Linked DNA regions of Homo sapiens: all the other regions are linked to region 1. Evidence: promoter capture Hi-C in 16 types of primary human blood cells and fetal thymus (Javierre and others, 2016). All regions are on one chromosome and are shown on one strand. Each heading gives the region's core, a stretch centred on a gene start or on the middle of the fragment in contact. The rest is flanking DNA. Distances are from core to core; before and after follow the strand shown. Region 1 holds the start of H3C2 (H3 clustered histone 2). Region 2 holds the start of TRD-GTC2-6 (tRNA-Asp (anticodon GTC) 2-6). Region 3 has its middle 3.4 kb from the start of TRV-AAC1-5. Region 4 has its middle 18 kb from the start of TRQ-CTG6-1. Region 5 holds the start of LINC02828 (long intergenic non-protein coding RNA 2828). Region 6 holds the start of C6orf62 (chromosome 6 open reading frame 62). Region 7 holds the start of TRI-AAT5-2 (tRNA-Ile (anticodon AAT) 5-2).

The links. Contacts are between HindIII fragments. The CHiCAGO score rates a contact against its expected background, and 5 or more counts as called.
Region 2: a fragment that was not itself captured here is called in contact with the fragment with the promoter of H3C2 in region 1 in 5 of 17 cell types (naive CD8 T cells, monocytes, total B cells and 2 more); the score reaches 7.1 in naive CD8 T cells.
Region 3: a contact is called between a fragment that was not itself captured here and the fragment with the promoter of H3C2 in region 1, in 1 of 17 cell types (fetal thymus). The highest score is 5.3, in fetal thymus.
Region 4: a contact is called between a fragment that was not itself captured here and the fragment with the promoter of H3C2 in region 1, in 3 of 17 cell types (M0 macrophages, M2 macrophages and monocytes). The highest score is 7.4, in M0 macrophages.
Region 5: a fragment that was not itself captured here is called in contact with the fragment with the promoter of H3C2 in region 1 in 1 of 17 cell types (M0 macrophages); the score reaches 6.2 in M0 macrophages.
Region 6: a contact is called between the fragment with the promoter of C6orf62 here and the fragment with the promoter of H3C2 in region 1, in 1 of 17 cell types (M1 macrophages). The highest score is 6.2, in M1 macrophages.
Region 7: a contact is called between a fragment that was not itself captured here and the fragment with the promoter of H3C2 in region 1, in 2 of 17 cell types (total CD8 T cells and total CD4 T cells). The highest score is 5.9, in total CD8 T cells.

What each region holds. Positions count from the first base shown.
Region 1 is chr6:26,030,812-26,033,511 of GRCh38, forward strand. It overlaps H3C2 (H3 clustered histone 2), which reads right to left and starts at 1,288. Exons shown (of 1, transcript NM_003537.4): 1 at 778-1,288. The coding sequence starts at 1,249. The coding sequence ends at 839. It overlaps H2AC4 (H2A clustered histone 4), which reads right to left. Exons shown (of 1, transcript NM_003513.3): 1 at 2,281-2,700. The coding sequence ends at 2,365. RefSeq lists enhancers at 925-1,154, 1,195-1,314, 2,252-2,700 and a silencer at 2,665-2,700. The HindIII fragment of the contact is 2,287 bases long and covers 1,266-2,700 here.
Region 2 is chr6:27,479,619-27,482,407 of GRCh38, forward strand. It overlaps TRD-GTC2-6 (tRNA-Asp (anticodon GTC) 2-6), which reads left to right and starts at 56; the gene lies at 56-127. RefSeq lists a silencer at 109-168. The HindIII fragment of the contact is 3,440 bases long and covers 1-2,789 here.
Region 3 is chr6:27,755,496-27,758,195 of GRCh38, forward strand. No RefSeq gene overlaps it. Among named protein-coding and RNA genes, the nearest start is that of TRV-AAC1-5, 3.4 kb to the left of the region's middle. The HindIII fragment of the contact is 200 bases long and covers 1,276-1,475 here.
Region 4 is chr6:27,772,511-27,775,210 of GRCh38, forward strand. No RefSeq gene overlaps it. Among named protein-coding and RNA genes, the nearest start is that of TRQ-CTG6-1, 18 kb to the right of the region's middle. The HindIII fragment of the contact is 4,434 bases long and covers 1-2,700 here.
Region 5 is chr6:24,739,724-24,742,465 of GRCh38, forward strand. It overlaps LINC02828 (long intergenic non-protein coding RNA 2828), which reads left to right and starts at 2,582. Exons shown (of 3, transcript NR_183315.1): 1 at 2,582-2,623. The HindIII fragment of the contact is 3,603 bases long and covers 1-2,742 here.
Region 6 is chr6:24,717,715-24,720,414 of GRCh38, forward strand. C6orf62 (chromosome 6 open reading frame 62) reads right to left here and starts at 1,440. Exons shown (of 5, transcript NM_030939.5): 1 at 826-1,440. The coding sequence starts at 954. RefSeq lists an enhancer at 2,121-2,700 and a silencer at 2,484-2,653. The HindIII fragment of the contact is 3,349 bases long and covers 596-2,700 here.
Region 7 is chr6:27,175,640-27,178,339 of GRCh38, forward strand. It overlaps TRI-AAT5-2 (tRNA-Ile (anticodon AAT) 5-2), which reads right to left and starts at 1,649; the gene lies at 1,576-1,649. RefSeq lists a cis regulatory region at 1,488-2,565, a silencer at 1,555-1,704 and enhancers at 1,907-2,106, 2,297-2,396. The HindIII fragment of the contact is 1,154 bases long and covers 789-1,942 here.

The DNA.
Region 1 (2,700 bases), core at 38-2,537:
CCAAAACCGAAAAGCAAGATCAACAGAAAGAAAATGGTTAAAACTTGTAAATTCTAGATTTTAATAACTACAGGCAAGAAGTACTGAAAAAAAGAATGTGGCATGTCATGGTGCATAGTCCTAGAGGAGACAAAGCAATGCAACCAGATAGACTATTTACAAGCAAAGCCACACATATAAAAATTCATATATAAGGGATTAAATTATGCTTGGTCGACAGACTGACAGATTTAAAGTGGGTAGCTAGCTATGGATAAAATGAGAGCCAGTTAGATCCCTGCCTCACATTTTGCACCAGAATAAATTTCAGGTTAATGTTAACAGCCAAATGAATTTAACAGTATATATATATATATATATATATATAATATATGAGAAAACCTAGGGGACTATGTATTGAGCTGAGAAAATCTTCCTAAGCATTTTGAGGAAGACACTGGAACTCGCAAGACACAATTTTCTAATCTTTTCAAAGCTTTGCAAAAATGCCTAGTAAGCGCCAGTTAACTACTTACCAGATTTTTCCCTTACTCTTACAAAGTTGTTTAAACAAATGCTAATCATAGCAAGCTAGAGGCCTGAATGATAGTGGACTTACACAGCTTCTCTCCAAATAGCACCTTAATAAGGTCAGAAATAACCTACACTGCAAGACTGACCAAACCGTTATTTCTGTTAATCAACTTTAAGACCATAGTCTAATGCTTTCCGGGGGGGTCCTTAGAAATTTGTTCTGTTAAGACAACAAAAAATTATCACAGCTACTTTCGTTGGAATAAGTGGGTGGCTCTGAAAAGAGCCTTTGGGTTTTAAGACTGATGAAAAAGTGACTTTACATTTACGCTCTTTCTCCGCGAATGCGGCGAGCGAGCTGGATGTCTTTGGGCATAATAGTCACTCGCTTAGCATGGATGGCGCAAAGGTTTGTGTCCTCAAAGAGCCCTACCAAGTAGGCCTCACAAGCCTCCTGCAGCGCCATCACCGCAGAGCTCTGGAAGCGAAGATCGGTCTTGAAGTCTTGGGCGATTTCTCGCACCAGGCGCTGGAACGGCAGCTTCCGAATCAGCAACTCGGTCGACTTTTGGTAGCGGCGGATCTCGCGCAGAGCCACAGTGCCCGGGCGGTAACGGTGAGGCTTTTTCACGCCGCCGGTAGCCGGCGCGCTCTTGCGAGCAGCCTTGGTAGCCAGCTGCTTGCGTGGCGCTTTACCGCCGGTGGATTTCCGAGCTGTCTGTTTAGTACGAGCCATGGCAAAACCACAGAAAAGCTTGCCTGCAGAGACGTCTGTGGAGGAAAGGAAAGAGCTACTCTTCTTTTATAGAGTCAGACCACCAACTATTGGACCCAAGAAAATTCAAAAATCCCCGCGCCCTTCTTGGATTGGTCCATCTCTGTGCCTGGTTGCAGATTAAGAGAGGCTCCTGCCCATTACCGTAGCTACTCTGACGTCATTTTGTTAACCCCTTAGCTGCTATATCCACTGTGGACAAGTCTTGTACTGGAAAAGTTTCCTGAAGTCTTAAAATTTACAACCACACAAAGCAACGCGGAAACCTCCAATTGTTTCTAGTTAAAATATAAAAAAGAAATCAGAGAATATTGGAGACGATTAGGGAAATTTGCATATGCGCTTTATTTAAAATTGTATTTTTCTGGGTGTCGCATAAGAAGTGTGGGCAATTAGAAAAATGCTCTTAGCCGGGCGTGGCGGCTCTCGCCTGTAATCCCAGCTACTCAGAAGGCTGTCAAGAGGATCGCTTGAGCCCGAGTTCGAGGTTACAGTGAGCTGTTATCACGCCGCTGCACTGCAGCTTGGGCGAGAGGGAGACTCCACCCCAAAACAAAGCAAAACATCCCCAAACTGGAAAAAAGCTCATTTTGGGAAATACATACTCAAATGTTCAGTGGTAATGTGTGTGCTCTCAATTGTGTATGCCATTAATTGCTACAGCAAATGGTATGACATATTCAAACTTGTGTGGGGCATGCGGGTTTTAACACTTCCATTCAAGATAGTTAGGAATGCACTCATGGGTATAATTTCCTTCCTCTAAAATGTAGTAACTGCTGTGTGTGAAACTTAACGCGAATCACCCCTGTAAACATGTTTTGTGCTGCATGGCACTTCTCCCACATACCTAGAATTCCTGAGGTTTCTATGGATCTAATTTCTGCAGGACAAATTACTAAAAGTGCCACACTCAAAGCCATTAAAAACACCTCAAAAACATCTTTATGGGCGGCATAATCCAAAGCACAACAGCTCATTTAATGGAAGTCGTAGGTGGCTCTGAAAAGAGCCTTTGCTGTTAGGCTGATTTTGTCTGCTGACAGAAAAACAGCAGTGCATGAAGCGTTAACTCTTCACTTTCCCTTGGCCTTATGATGGCTCTCAGTTTTCTTAGGCAGCAGCACCGCCTGAATATTAGGCAAAACGCCACCCTGCGCGATGGTCACACGCCCCAAGAGTTTATTAAGCTCCTCGTCATTGCGGATGGCCAATTGCAGGTGGCGCGGGATGATGCGGGTCTTCTTGTTGTCGCGGGCCGCATTGCCCGCCAGCTCCAGGATCTCGGCGGTCAGGTACTCAAGCACCGCCGCGAGATACACCGGCGCGCCAGCCCCGACGCGCTCGGAGTAGTTGCCTTTGCGGAGCAGGCGGTGCACTCGGCCCACAGGAAACTGCAAACCTGCACGAGA
Region 2 (2,789 bases), core at 101-2,600, 1.4 Mb after region 1:
GACAATAGCGAGTAACTTCACAGGGATTTCCTAAGAGCTCCATTTTCACGTCAATTCCTCGTTAGTATAGTGGTGAGTATCCCCGCCTGTCACGCGGGAGACCGGGGTTCGATTCCCCGACGGGGAGGAGGCTTAAACTTTTTTTTAGAAAAGCACACTTCCGGTAAACACAGTCTCTAGTCTTCTGGGCAAATGTTGGGTTCTCTTTTTCTTTAGCAGAGTTCTTTCAAACCAACGAAATACTGATCGCAAAAACCATAAGCTGTAGAAATCATGAGGTTCTGTAATAGCAAGAAAATTTCCACTCTGCACTGTAATCTCCATCACAGTGGAGAAACCGGGTAGATACCATCTTACCCAAGTGATTGAATCAGTATTGGGACGAATCTACATTATATACCTTTTTTACAGGATGTGCTCATGAGAGCACAACGTCACTTTTGTGGTATTCTTGGCAAAAATATGTAATCTAAATCAGAAAACATCAGACAAACCCATATTGAGGGAGATTTTAACAAAATAACTGACTTGTACGCCTCAAAAACTGCAATTACTTTTGCATCAACCTAGTAACAGGCAAGCAGGGAGGAAAAATAAATAAATAAATAAATAAATAAATAAACAAATAAATAAAATAACAAAGTTACAGAACACAAAGAAAGGCTGACTAAATAGTCCACATTATAGAAGATCTTAAAGATATGACAGCAACATATGGTCTGGAATTTTTATCTTAAAGGACATTATTGAAATAGTTGGTGAAATCTCAATAAAGTCTATAGATTTTATAATATTATGAATGTGAATTCCTGATTGTATTAATTGTTCTATGGTTATAGAACAAAATGTCTTTAAGAAAATTCACACCTATTTACAAAATACGTATTTAAGGGTAAGGGGAGGTATGTGTCTTCAAACTCACTGTCAAATAGTTCAGAAATATACATTTATGTATATATATGAGAGAGAGAAGGAAAAGAAAATATAGGAATATCCTTAATGTGCTAATATTGAGGGAATTGGGGTGAAGGGTGCTCAGGAATTATCTGTATTATTCATGTACTGTGTCTGTCAGTCTAAAATAATTTCAGAATGGAAAGTTAAAAGGAGAAAAGCCTAATAAAACTATAAATGAAAATATACGAATTAAAATGTAAAAGGGCAAATATACAATTTTGAACAATGCATATGACAAGAGTGACGACTACATTAATGAATAGGAATTTAGAACTGATGAAGGAGTGGGATTCAAAATGTTATAAGTGAGCAAGAAAATTCATAACATGTGACAAAAGCTACATAAAGAGTGAATGCCTGAAACAACATTGTTTCGTAATGATTACATGTTGGAATATGAAAACAAATGGTACTAAATTTCAAAACAGCAACGACAATATAAAATGGAAAGGTATGGCGAAATCCAAATCATTCTAAGCTCCTTTATAATAAGGTAGGAATTAGAAGTGTACCTAGTATATACCCTCGACCAACGCTGAATGGATGAATATTAAAAGCAATATTTTTGTGAGCCATAATCAAAGCCAACAGCATTGCTTCTTTAATGAAAGAATACTCTTCCAGCATATAACAATATGTCTGATTTTGTTTTAAAAATACTTATTGGCCAGGCGAGGTGGCTCATGCCTCTAATCCAAGCACTTTGGGAGGCTGAGGCGGGTGGATCACCTGAGGTCTGGAGTTCGATACCAGCCTGGCCAACCTGCTGAAACCCCATCTCTACTAAAAATACAAAAATTAGCTGGGTGTGGTGGCGGGCACCTGTAATCCCAGCTACTCGGAGGCTGAGGCAGGAGAATCACTTGAACCCGGGAGGCGGAGGTTGCAGTGAACCAAGATTGCAGCATTGCACTCCAGCCTGGGCGACAGAGCAAGACTCTGTCTCCAAAAAAAAAAAAAAGAAAAATAATTATTATTAACATTTTTGTCATGAAATTTTGGCCATCAAATTTAAAAGTTAATATTATTGTGCAACACTTTCAGCCAATGGATTCTTTTTTTCGTTAACACTATTGAACAGTAGAGTGATTGATGCCTCATCCTTTTCACCTAACATTGAATCTCGTTTGTCTCTATTACTTCCTTTTAATCTATTATTTCTTTTTTAATCTAGAAGAAAAATGATTCATCGTGGATAAGAACTATAAAGCAATTGTTTTGTTTGTTTGTTTGTTTCTGGCTTTTTTTTTTTTTTGAGACAGAGTCTCGCTCTATCGCCCAAGCTGCTGTGCAATGGCGCAATCTTGGCTCACCACAACCTCTGCCTCCTGAGTTCGAGCCATTCTCCTGGCTCAGCCTCCCGAGTAGCTGGGATTGCAGGCGTGTATTTTGAGTAGAGACAGGGTTTCACCACGTTGGCCAGGCTGGTCTTGAACTCCTGACCTCGTGATCTACCTGCCTCAGCCTCCCAAAATGCTGGGATTACAGGTGTGAGCCACCAAGCCCGACTTAAAGCAACTGTTTGAAGGCACTGATAAGCTGTCAACCCAGGCAAGGCTTGACAAACTACAATCCTTGAGAGAAGGGAAGCACATTATATGAGTTTGCACATTTGAAAGTGCTTTCCTCCTGAAGGTGTGTCCCGTATTGCACCATTGTGGAATAGACCTCATGTGGAAAGAGGCAGTTGTGCTGGACTAAGGAGATACTGGTCAGAGTTTGGGGCTACCAACGTGCATAGAACTTGATGGTCAAAATTCAAGTGATGAGGGAACCACAGAGAAAGATCTCAAATTTGTATTATAAATTCTCCTTATATTACTGGCTAATTC
Region 3 (2,700 bases), core at 126-2,625, 1.7 Mb after region 1:
CTGGACATAGTGGTGTACCTGTAGTTCTAGTTACTCTGGAGACGAAGTAAATCAGGAAGATCACTTGAGCCCAGGAGTTTGAGGTTGCATGTGCAATGATTGTGTCTGTGAAAAGCCACTGCCCTCCAGCCTGGGCAATATAGGGAGACTCCATCTCTAATTTAAAAAAAATTGTTGTAAACACATTTATTTCATATTAATTAAAATAAATTATTGGCTGGGCACAGTGGCTCATGCCTGTAATTCTAGCACTTTGGGAGGCTTAGGCGGGATGATCACTTGAGCCATGAGTTCGAGACAGCCTGGGCAACATTGCGAGATCCCCATTTCAAATTTTTTTAAAAAGAAAAATAAATTATTGAGCTACAAACAATGTGCCAGACAATTGTGACCCTATGTTGTCACTAGGAGTACCAGAGGCATGCAGGACAAGATTACACAATCCTAACTCTCAAGGAGAAGAAAGAGGAACATGAGCAGCCAATATGCCATAAGCAAAAAGTGGAGCAACAGACGTACAGATTGCGAAGCATTTGGATGGTAGTATAGAGAGGAGGCATCTTCTTAGTCCTTATGAACTGGCAGGGCAGATCTGGCAGGGATCTTTGGAGCCAAAATATCTGAGTACAATTCCTTCCTCTGCCACTTTCTCATCATATGTAGGGTTTCAGGCAAGCTATTTGGCTTCTTCATGACTCTGTCTGTGCTGGTAAAATGGATATGGATACAGTGTGTACCTCATAGAATTATCATAAACTCAATTAAGAAAAACTCCCTGAAGTGTTTCAGACAGTGCTCAACTTACAGAAGTAGTTACTGCTTTTATTTTTAGTATTACTTTTAGCCTTGTCAAGCCTCCTGAGTCAAGATCTATCCCTGTCATTTCGGGTTTACATTTGAGCAAGTTAAGGCTTGAACAATGTGCTGAGGTTATGCTAGCTAGGAAAGGACACCACCAGGTGTGTTTGTCTCCAGAACTGGTGTTCTTGACCACCATGCTATACTAGGTAGTTTTATAAACCCCTGTTTATGACAAAAAAAGATTATAGAGAATATTATGGACCTCCTTATTTCCATGATCCTACTTCAACAATTAGTCTCTCCTCCCTCTGCCAAGCCCCCATGATAATTTAAAGCAAATTTAGACATTTTCATCTAGCAACAGCTTTTTGTGGCATTTTCATAGCATATGCTTCCATTTAACTTTGTAGTTAATGAGGAAATTTGTTGAGCTGTTCTCCCCTGGGCGGGAGAGATGCCATGCAGGGAGTCCTAAGCTTCCCATTGTCCCTCAGATCAGTAAAGAAGACCAGCCCTAAGCTGCTGACCACAGGTTCATGGGACTCTTCTGAGGGAATGTGAGGCCCAGAACTTACGCTAGTGATTCTCCAGGTGGACTATTCCTAAGATTCCTTGCCATACCCCCTTCTAGTGCAGAGGGTCTCTGGTATGGCCCACAAGTCTTAATTTTTAGAAGCTTCCAGGTGATTCAGAAGCTGAGGACCTTTGGGAAGATTTTGACAATCCTTTCATTAATGACAAATTTGTTTCATCTTAAAAAACAAAACTTCATCCTTGTATGTGTGGAGGAGGACACTATAGTGAAATTAAAGAAAAAAAAAGTCAAATTATCTGCTCCCTCCATCTACCTGAGGTTTTCTTGCTTGGCATTTGCAAAGAAATTGGGCGCATGGGTGAATACTTTGATTGCTATAAAGAGTAGAGTTTGGCCGTTGATTTTAGTACACTAAAAGTGCAAGGGCAAGAAACATACCAGCACCTTGACAGTTTCTGGGAAGAAACTTAACGGCACCTTCTGGACCCAATCTGCGTGGCGCAGTGGCCTAAAGAGGCGACCGAACCTGCATCCCTAGCTCCGCCTTCCCGGTCCCTGCACACCCCGGCAGCTTCCGCGCGATTCTTCCCGCCCCCGACACCCGCCGCCACACAAAGGCGCTGCGTCCTGGCGGCCAGCGGGGGCTTAGTCTAGGCCCGGCAGGGTTTTCTGGAAGACCAGAGGGCCACCAGGTCACCGAGGTGGGAAGTGAAGAGAGGTTCGACGCTGCCTCAGGCCTGGGCCTGGCCGGTGGGAGACACAGCAAGGACTCTGGGAGCCTGCAGAGCAGAGGCCGCCGCGGGGCCGGGCCCCCGTCTCCTCCTCAGGTCCAAGACCAGAGGGTCTGCAGGGCCCCAGAGCAGCTGGCCGCGCTCCGCTTCCCACCGCGCTCTCTGCTGGAACTCATGTGGTTGTTTATCCTTATTTTGCTAAATTTCTTTATTTGCTGTAACAGTTTGTGTGTGTGTGTGTTTGAGTGTGTGTGTGTAATTTTCAGGGTTTTCTATATATAAAAATCATGTCACGGCCAGGCTTGGTGGCTCACACCTGTAATCCCAGCACTTTGGGAGGCCAAGGTAGGAGGATCGCCTGAGCCCAGGAGTTCGAGACCAGCCTGGGCAACACGGGCAACATAGCGAGACCCTAGTCTCTAAAATTTTTTTTATTAGCCGGGCATGGTGGCAGGCGCCTGTGGTCCCAGTTACTCCGGAGGATGAGGCAGGGTAATCGCTTGAACCAGGGAAGTCGAGGCTTCAGTGAGGCATAATTGCTCTGCTGCATCCCAGCCTGGGTGACAAAGAGAGATCCCATCTCTCTCTCAAAAAAAAGTCATGTTATCTGTGAACATAGATAATTTTACTTTT
Region 4 (2,700 bases), core at 133-2,632, 1.7 Mb after region 1:
AGAGCAGCAACCAAAGGCTAACGTGAGAGTCACTTTTCAAAGCACCTTTTCAGCAAACAAGAATCAGCTGTCGAGTTACCAGCTCCTGTGGCTCCTTCCCCGCAGTCTCCACCAGGCGGCGCGCCCCAGGAAGCCGGACGCCTGCTACCGCGGGCCGCGTTTCTTTGTGCAAACTCAGCAAGGCCTGGCAGCCTTGGAGAGCAGGCCTTTAGCAAGCCGCGGAAACGCAACTGGGTGCCAGGGTTACTCGTTGCATTTGTGGTGGGCAGAGCTTCCTCCAAGCAGTCAGAGGAAAGCTCTCTGAAGGTGTGTAATTTCGTTTGGTAATTAGCATATAATTAGGTCTTGGGTAGGGCATGGGTCAAATCCAGCGCCACGTTGGACTCAGACGGTTTCAGACAGCTTAGCCCTCATCCTGTTTATTAGGGTCTTATCAGCCCAAGCTCTTCCTTGTCCTTGTAGCTAATTTTAACAGCTCCTTTAGGAGCTGTTAGGAGCTTAGGAAAGCTCTCCGACTGCTTGGAGGAAAGCTCTGCCCATGAGACTGCTCGGAGGAAAGCTCTGTCCACCACTACAGCGCTAAGGATATCGCCCAAGCTCTTTGCTAAATGTCTCTTGGGAAAAAGCTCCTCATGAAGCAGGTAAGACTGATTTGTAGTTTAATGACCTGCAGGTCCCCACATGAACACGAGGAAAGGGACGTGCAAGGCAGTGTTGAAGAAACATCAGCAGGTCTATTTGAGGTTCTCACCAGGTATCTTTCCTGATGGTGGGATGGGAACTTGGGGCCCTGTTGTAATTCCAGATCTGGGAAACTGCTGATTTCTCCTTCCCCCCAACTCTCCATTCCATCTCCTTACCACTCTCGTTATGATAATTGTCCCATGGTGCATTAATTCTTTTCCAGCCTTGTCGTTCAAACACTTATGTTTCCTGTAAGTACCATTAACAGCTTCTCTTGAACTGGTTTCTCTAAAAATTCCTCCTTTACCTTTCTTCTAAAGTGTCGGATCCTTTACCTTTCAAAAACGAGGAATAGGTCTCGTGGCTCATGCCTAGCGAGACCTCATCTCCACAAAAAATAATAATAAAAAAATTAGCCAGGTGTGGTGGTGTGGGCCTGTAGTCCTAGTTACTGGGGAGGCTGAGGTAGGAGGATCACTTAAGCCCAGGAGGTCAAGGTTATAGTGAGTTATGATCGTGCCACTGCACTGCAGCCTAGGTGACAGAGCAAGACCCTGTTCCCCACCCTCTGCAAAAACAAACAAACAAAAAAGCATCCTGATAAACATAGACATGAAATTGAAACATACAGGTGAAGGGTCACAGATTTATGCCTCAGTCTTCTCATCTGTAAGACAAAGACAGCCTCATCACTTTTAATGAGGTGAGCGAATGAGGGAGGAGACCACCCCTCATATTGTCTTATGCCCGATTTCTGCCTCCAAAGAAAGAAGAAGTAAAAACTAAAAAGCAGAAATGAAATCCACAGGCAGACAGCCCGGCGCCACGCCCTGGGCCTGGTAGTTAAAGATTAACCCCTGACCTAACACTGGTTATGTTATCTATAGTTTCCAGACATTGTATGGAAAAGCATTGTAAAAATCCCTGTCCTGTTCTGTTCCGTTCTGATTACTGGTGCATGCAGCCCCCAAACATGCACCCCCTGCTTGCTCAGTTGATCACGACCCTCTCATGTGGACCCCCTTAGAGTTGTGAGCCCTTAAAAGGGACAGGAATTGCTCACTCAGGGAGCTCGGTTCTTGAGACAGAAGTCTTGCCGATGCTCCAGGCCAAATAAACCCCTTCCTTCTTTAACTCGGTGTCTGAGGGGTTTTGTCTGCGGCTCTTCCTGCTGCACATTAAGTGAGGTACACCACTGCATATTACATGGCAGGTGCTCAGTCTCCTCCTTCCACTTCCTCACTGGTTTTCTAGTGAAGAGAGAATGAAGGGGTGGGTTGCCCCTCCACACCTGTGGGTGTTTCTCGTAAGGTGGAACGAGAGACTTGGAAAAGAAAAAGACACAGAGACAAAGTATAGAGAAAGAAATAAGGGGACCCGGGGGACCAGCGTTCAGCATATGGAGGATCCCACCAGCCTCTGAGTTCCCTTAGTATTTATTGATCATTCGTGGGTGTTTCTCCGAGAGGGGGATGTGTCAGGGTCACAAGACAATTGTGGGGAGAGGGTCAGCAGACAAACACGTGAACAAAGGTCTTTGCATCATAGACAAGGTAAAGGATTAAGTGCTGTGCTTTTAGATATGCATACACATAAACATCTCAATGCTTTACAAAGCAGTATTGCTGCCCGCATGTCCCACCTCCAGCCCTAACGCGGTTTTTCCCTATCTCAGTAGATGGAACGTACAATCGGGTTTTATACCGAGACATTCCATTGCCCAGGGACGGACAGGAGACAGATGCCTTGCTCTTGTCTCAACTGCAAGAGGCATGCCTTCCTCTTATACTAATCCTCCTCAGCACAGACCCTTTACAGGTGTCGGGCTGGGGGACGGTCAGGTCTTTCCCTTCCCAAGAGGCCATATTTCAGACTATCACATGGGGAGAAACCTTGGACAATACCTGGCTTTCCTAGGCAGAGGTCCCTGCGGCCTTCTGCAGTGTTTGTGTCCCTGGGTACTTGAGATTAGGGAGTGGTGATGACGCTTAACGAGCATGCTGCCTTCAAGCATCT
Region 5 (2,742 bases), core at 141-2,640, 1.3 Mb before region 1:
TGTGTCATGGGAGGGACCCGGTGGGCAGTAATTGAATCATGGGGGTGGGTTTTTTCCATGTTGTTCTCATGATAGTGAATAAATCTCACAAGATCTGATGGTTTTATAAAGGGCAGTTCCCCTGCATACCTGCCCTTGCCTGCCACCATTTAAGATGTACCTTTGCTCCTCCTTCACCTTCTGCCATGATTGTGAGGCCTCCCCAGCCATATGGAACTGTGTGTCCATTAAACCTCTTTTTCTTTATAAATTACCCAATTGTGAATATTTCATCATAACAGTATGAGAACAGGCTAATACACTGCCATTTGTGGGAAAATGAGTAGACGTACCCATGGGTACAAACTAGCTATAAGATCAGGATATACAATAAACTAATAACGTTGGTTGCCTGTGGGAGGGAGATTTTTCACAGTGTAGACTTTGGTACCTTTTGAATTTTCAACTATATGAAGGCTGCATCTGGGAAATGGGTCTGGGTAGGGAAGAGGACTGTTGCTTTTTTATTGAGTGAAAGTAGCCAGACACAAAAATTTAGTGTTATATTTTCTACAATGTACATGATAAACATACTAAAAGAAAAGACAAGATGGGTCAGATTACAGAGGGCCTTATAAAAGACCAGGCATGGAAATTTAGAGTTGATTAAGGCCTGAAAATGGCACTGGCAATGGTGATAAAAGGATGAATTTAAACACTTAATAGAAAAAATCTAGAAAGTAAAATATCTGGATAGAAAATGATAGAGGTAAGTGAAGAGGACACCCAAGTTTTGGTGCGAGTAACTGTTACGGACTGAATTGTGCCTCCCCAAAATTCATATATTGAAATCCTAATCCCTAGTATGCTTCAGAATGTGCCTGTATTTAGAGATAAGACCTTTAAAGAGATGATTAAGGTTAAAAAATTATTAGAGAGGTGAAAAAGTTATTAGAGTGGTCTCCAATCCAATATGATTAATGTCCTTATAAGAAAAGGGAGAGAAACCAGAAATACATGCACAAAAGAAAGGCCATTGCTGGGTACAGTGGTGCATGCCTGTAATCCCAACAACTTGAGAAGCTAAAGCAGGAGCATTGCTTGAGCTCGGGAGTCTGAGGCAGCAGAATGAGACCCTGCCTCTGGTGCAAAAAATAAAATAAAATAAAAGCCATGTGAGGACCCACCAAGAAGATGGCCATCTGCAAGCCAAGGAGAGAGAGTTCAGGAGAAACCAAACCTGCCAGAATCTTGATCTTGGACTTCTGACCCAGAGAACTGTGAGAAAATAAATTTCTGTTGTTTTAGCTATCCAGTCTGTGGTGTTTTGTTATGGCAGCCTGAGCAGACTAAGACAGTGACTAAGAAAGTGACCATGCCATGACCACAGGCAGGAAAGTGGGAAAGGGAGCTAGTTTGAGAAGGGAGGTGATTTTGAATTGCAGCACCAGCCAGGCATAGTGGTTCATGCCTATAACCCCAGCACTTTGGAAAGCCAAGCCTAGAGCCCAGCCATGGGAGGTTTGCCTGAACCCAGGAGTTCAAGACCAGCCTGGGCAATATAGTGAGATGCCATCTCTACAAAAAACTCATAAATTATCTGGGCATGGTGGCTTGCATCTGTAGTCCCAGCTACTTGGGAAGCTGAGGCAGAAGGATTGCTTGAGCCCAGGAGCTTCAGGCTACAGTTATCTATCACAGCAGCACTGCACTCCAGTCTGGGTGACAGACTGAGACCTCATCTCAAAAATAAATATGTAAATAAGGCCAGGCATGGTGGCTCATGGCTGTAATCCCAGCACTTTGGCAGGCCAAGGCAGGCAGATTACTTTAGGTCAGGAGTTCAAGACTAGCTTGGCCAACATGGCAAAACCCCATCTCTACTAAAAATACAAAAAAATTAGCTTGGTGTGGTGGTGCACGCCTGTAATCCCAGCTACTCAGGAGACTGAGGTGGGAGGATCATTTGAGCCTGGGAGGCAGAGGTTGCAGTGAGCTGATATCTGACCACTGCCCTCCAGCCTGGGCTACAGTGTGAGACTCTGTCTCAAAAAATAAAAAATTAAAATAAATAAATAAATACATATATACATAAAATAAAATTTAAAATTGCAGCCCCAGTGAAATATGGCGGCTCACGCCTGTAATCCCAGCACTTTGGAAGGCCAAGGAGGGCAGATTACCTGCAGTCAGGAGTTCGAGACCACCTGGCCAACATGGTAAAACCCCATCTCTACTAAAAATACAAAAATTAGCCAGGCATGGTGGCACATGCCTGTAATTCCAGCTACTCGGGAGGCTGAGGAAGGAGAATTGCTTGAACCTGGGAGGCAGAGGTTGCAGTGAGCTGAGACAGAGCCACTGCACTCCAGCCTGGGAAACAGAGCAAGACTCCATCTCAAAAAAAAAAAAAAAAAAGAAAAGAAAGAAAGAAAGAAAGAAAAGAAAAAGAAAACAGAACAGGCCTTTTTAACCGCAGAGGTAATGGCTACAGGGAAGATAATGTGACTTTGGAGTGAAAGGATAGAGAGAATAGGGAGCAAGGGAATACGTAGCAAAGGAATGGCAAGAGAAATAAAAGGCAATAAAAAGGGAAGGAACTGCTAGCAAATAGGACAGAAGCCAAGGAAGCCGAACATTTGAGGTATGAGAAATCTTTTTTTTTTCTTTTTAATGCTGTAGAGAGAAACAGAGAAAGAAAAACCAGAAAAGAATAATGGATTTAACTAAAAAGAGGTCTTTGTTGACCTTTTAGAAAACAGT
Region 6 (2,700 bases), core at 190-2,689, 1.3 Mb before region 1:
TGATCTGAAATTAGCTAACAATTTAAGCACCAAAATCCAAGTAGCACTTCCTTACATTCATAACCTCATCTTTGGTCAAATAAGCCTTGCTGATAATTTAAGAAAATGTTCATTTTAAGTTGCAAAAAATACTGCTCTTATCATCCCATCCTTGACTACTCACAACTTACTGTTTGCTATTTAACTGCGGAACTAATTCTGATTAAGACCTCCACCGCCCCTAAAAATGAAACTTCCTCTAGGTCATTTTGAGTTTTTAAAAACTGTACTTCTATACAAGGCAAAATGAACTCTAAGTAAAAAAGAAAATCACACTTCTAAACACAAATTAACCATTTCAGTATTTAATTGCTCCTAAAAGGTGTATTCTACTTCATTAAATGTAAGAGAAAAGGTTACCTACATTACGCAGTTTAAGAAACAGGATAAACTTTAGCATATAAACAGTCTGATTACAATTTCACACTTTCAACCATCTTATTTATACTCTACATTAGATAATCTTTAAATTCCATCATAAGGTTTCCCATGTTAACTCCATATAAAATTTTGTAATCTTGCCCACCCCATGTCAACTCAGTGTATACTACTACTAAGCTTCAGACTCAAATTTATTTCCAAACCAAAGAACGCTCAAGGGTCTTTTCGCATGCTGCAACTGCTCAATTCACAGAATCACCCCTAAGGGTGAAAAAACAGAGCATACAAAGCAGACTTTTTTTCAACCACTCTTTAACCTAATATTCATAATAATTTAAGAGTAACAAATAATATACACTTACAAAAATTACTTGTGCTAATTCACCATTAAGAACTTTAAATTACCTTCTCCTTGAATACAAAGGCAATATACATCTTGAAGTCAAACTGGTCAGCTAGAGATTCTTTTTTCTTTCTAAGCTGAGCACGTAGTCTGTTCAGAGCTTGTTTCTTCCGGGAGTTTGGGTCCCCCATTTTGAAATACAGGTGGTACTAAAGCCTTTGGAAATTGTCACTAAACTATGGGCACTTTTTCTTAAGACTCAAGTACAACAGAAACAAGTCATTTTTTTTCCTGCTAATATGATTGATTAGCGAAAATCACGACTATAACCCAAAAACTGCACCTTCTGTCAATATTAGCAGACTGTCATATTACAGGGTCAAGAAACAAAAGCTGCTGTCCAGTCATGTTTGGACAATAACGTTTGGGGTCAGACGGGAAAAAGGGAGGAAAGAAAGGAAAGAAAGAGGAGAAAATAACTAACTTTCTGGAAAACACATTTGGCTTAACTGCCAAAATAAAGGCTTTGCGGAGAAATGAAAAGCCTATAATCAGGATTTAGGTGTGCAATAAAACACAGCTGACACCAGACCAATCCCTAAAATCCATCCGGATTTTCCCCCCTTTTTAGAAAAGGGATTAAGGAACAGGGAGGGGGAAGTGTGATCCTTGCTTTCCAAAAAAAAAAAAAAAAAAAACTCACCAAAACCAAAACCAAAACCAAACACCAAAACAGGGTAGGTGAATGAAACTGAAATATCCAATTAGATTTTACCCAGCCAGCTCCATGGCTGTAGTACCTAATTCTTAGTTATTTCAGATTTCACTATTGCTATGTATTGTCAGTGCTTGTTATTGATTACACTTGGTGGTGAGCATAGAGAAAAGTGCAAAATCGGTAGAGAAGGAAAGGGAGAGGTACAGGGTTTCCCTGCAATCAACTACAGTGTATACCGGGGGCGGGCAGCTGTGGCCCAAAGGAGCCATGAGAAAAAACAGCGGAGTCATTACCAACTTCCCCATCACCCACATTTTCACCCTCAGGCGGCTGCTAACGCTGCTGCCAAGGAGAATCATGACGGCAGAAGGAAAAGGGGTATATAATACGGTATTAATTATTCCGGCTCTGTGGTTAGACCTGATTAATGCCCGGGTTCCCAACACCCCCAGCCTGCAACTAGTCCTACATTCCCCAAGGGAGACTTCCCTGTGGATCTGCCCCCGTTCAAAATGGTGGGGAGTGCGATTTATCTTCTTGTGAGCATTGCCGAGGCAAAGGTGGCGGGTTCTTCTCCCAAATCCCAGGCGGTGCCCGGAGACCACCTGCCTTCCACCCCCGCAGGTCCCACCCCCACCCCTTGCCTTCAGCGGCAGCGACTCACTCGCACCACGGGAGACACAGGATCACTCAGGTTTTCACTCATTTCATCGTGGAAACAATTCCCGCCCGGGTGGAGTGGGCGGGAGAGGGTAAATGGGAAGGTTCAGTGGGGGAAAAAAAGAAAATAATTGTGTTAATATTACTTCTAAAGTAAGCCCACCCACCCTCCCCCCAAAAAATTAAGTTCCCGGATTAGCTCTCTCTCACGTTGAACAGACCATGTTTCCAGAGTTTGGATTGTTTAGGGTGGGGTCGTTAGTTGTTTCCCGAGGGGCAGGGGGTGGAATTGAGGCAGCTAGGGCGGGGTGGGTGACGGGGAAATCCCCTCCCTGTCCCCGCGGAGCCCGGGACTCACGGACCGACTCTAGGGCGGGGTTTGGGCCCTCTAGCCGCAGCCTGCGGGCGGAGCGGTGGCGGCGGCGGAAGAGGCGGCGGCGGCGGGGGCGCTGCTGGTAGCACGGGCAGGAGCCATGTCAAGAGAAAACCACCAGCCAACTGAGCCCCTCCATCCCCGCTGCAGTGCGCACCGTGACTGGACCGCCCGCGCTGCTGCCGC
Region 7 (2,700 bases), core at 116-2,615, 1.1 Mb after region 1:
GCCAGGCACACGGGGACCCAGTGACCAGACTCCAAGAAAGCGCAGGACAGGGCTGGGCGCGGTGGCTCACGCCTGTAATCCCAGCACTTTGGGAGGCCGAGGCGGGCGGATCACGAGGTCAGGAGATCGAGACCATCCCGGCTAAAACGGTGAAACCCCGTCTCTACTAAAAATACAAAAAATTAGCCGGGCGTAGTGGCGGGCGCCTGTAGTCCCAGCTACTTGGGAGGCTGAGGCAGGAGAATGGCGTGAACCCGGGAGGCGGAGCTTGCAGTGAGCCGAGATTGCGCCACTGCACTCCAGCCTGGGCGACAGAGCGAGACTCCGTCTCAAAAAAAAAAAAAAAAAAGAAAAAGAAAAAAAGAAAAAAAAAAAGAAAGCGCAGGACAGAAAGAGCGAGGTGCTAAGACTTAGAGTGGACCCAGAGGCTCTGGCCCTCCTGTCTCCCACCACGCACTCCATTTTTGTCACATTTCAAACCTATCGCTTTTACGATATATGTTCAAAAATTGTTTAATGAACTGTAAATGGCTTGGTAAGGGCCGCATCGTAAATGGCTTGGTATGGGCCACATCGAGAACAGCTGTCAAATATAAGCCTAAGGCTAACCACGGATCTATTTTAACACTGAGCAGTTGTGGCTGAGTGTCTGGAGCTTGGCAGAAAGCAACGTCACAAGTCTGGCTTTTTCCCACGTAGACTGAACCCTCGCCCTCAAAGCTACAAACACAACAATTTAACCAACTGAGTGATCAACTAGGAGAAGAATCAATATGATCTCTTTCAAAAGCTTAAAATATGTCAAAATAGTATTATCTCAGAAAGTTTTTTTTTCCCAAAATAATACAAGACATTATCGAATTCTTATTTAACCCTTTTCTAAAATCACCCACCCACCTCATTGAATTTCCTTTAAAAAATCTTCATCCTGGCCGGGCGCGATGGCTCATGCCTGTAATCTCAGCACTTTGGGAGGCCAAGGCAGGCGGATCACCTGAGGTCAGGAGTTCAAGACTAGCCTGGCCAACATGGTGAAACTCCGTCTCTACTGAAAATACAAAAATTACCCAGGCATCGTGGCACACGCCTGTAATCCCAGCTACTTGGGAGGCTGAGGCAGAAGAATTGCTTAAACCTGGGAGGCGGAGGTTGCAGCGAGCCAAGATCGCGCCGCTGCACTCCAGCCTGGGCGTCAGAGCAAGACTCTGTCTCAAAAACAAACAAAACAAACAAATAAGAAAAACCTTTTCATCCTAACTCGTATATTATTTCTTCAAAAGAATAAAAAACGTGCAAATCTAATGCTTGTCTAGCTATTGCGACCACATTTACAAATGGATAGGCAGCGCTCCGGAGTTGGATGTAAGACGGTAGTATACAATCCAGGTGTGGTCGATTTAAGAAAAAAAAAAAAGAAAAAAGAAAAAAATTCCTGTCTAGCTAGTGCAACTACATTTATAAATGGATAGGCGAGGCTACGGAGTTCGATGTAAAACCGAAGTTTACAAGCGAGGTGTGGTCGGTGTAAAATAAAAACGAAAAAGAAGAAAAAAAAAAAAAACAAACCCACGGAAGTGGCCCGTACGGGGATCGAACCCGCGACCTTGGCGTTATTAGCACCACGCTCTAACCAACTGAGCTAACCGGCCTCCTTGGTGGGAGGGTCTTTTCTTATGTTTATTTAAATCATACCTGATCCATGCCCGCTGAATTTTTTTTTTTTTGTAATAGAAGCGTTACTTTCCCTTTTATTAATAAAATATATTTTTTTTTAAGAAAAGGAGAATTCCTCACTGTAGGCACAGGAAAACCATGCTGTTTCAGGGAAAACAATCTCAAACCACTGATTCTGACTGGAGAAAACTCAGATTCAACGACCCCAAGCAGGGCTTCCTTCCCCTCACCAGGTGAAGGACTCAGAACAAACCAAAAAGCAGCTCCAAGCTTGCGATCGCGGCCAGTTCCTCACGGAACCAACCGCAGAGCCGCCGCAGGTTCGCAGGATCGGAGGGTTCGGAGGACTCGGAGGGTGCGGATTCCTCTCTGCTCCTTGAGACCATTCCAGCCAGGTGGGCTCTTAGGCCTGGGAACCTGGGAAAGTGCACTGTCTCGCCTCCTGGCCTCGCGGTGGTTCCGCAGTCACCAGGACCCGAAATTCACAGCTGTGCGTCCTAAGCTTGCAGCTCCACAAACGATAAAATCAGACTTGGCCCTGCAGTGCCGGGCACCGGGCCCTTGGTGATGCTCGAGTGCCGGGCTGGCATCGGCGTAAATGAAAGGACCAGCGGGACGGCTCCTTTCAAGAGTCTCTGACTCCTTCCGTCCCGGGAAGACCAAGACACCCACATCTAAGACAAGGGAAGTCACCATTATCTACACCAATGATAAACGCCGGTATCTGGGAGGAACTGAGCCCAGGACCGGGTCAGGCAACTCAGAGTGTTGGGACAACTAAGTCCCTCTTCAAAGACTCAACTTTCTTGTCATAAGTTGCAAAAGTTGTACGTCAATCCTGCCTGCCCCCCGCCCCCCACCACACACATACACTCCTTTTTTTCGCAAATCCAGGGTTTACCCTATTTGCCAAAGTTTAAGTCTTAGCCAATCGGGATCAGCTTAGATTGTGCGGTCCAACCCCAGCCAATAGGGGAAGGACACAGAAACAGGAACTGCGTTAGGATTAAAAACTCCTTACCTCCT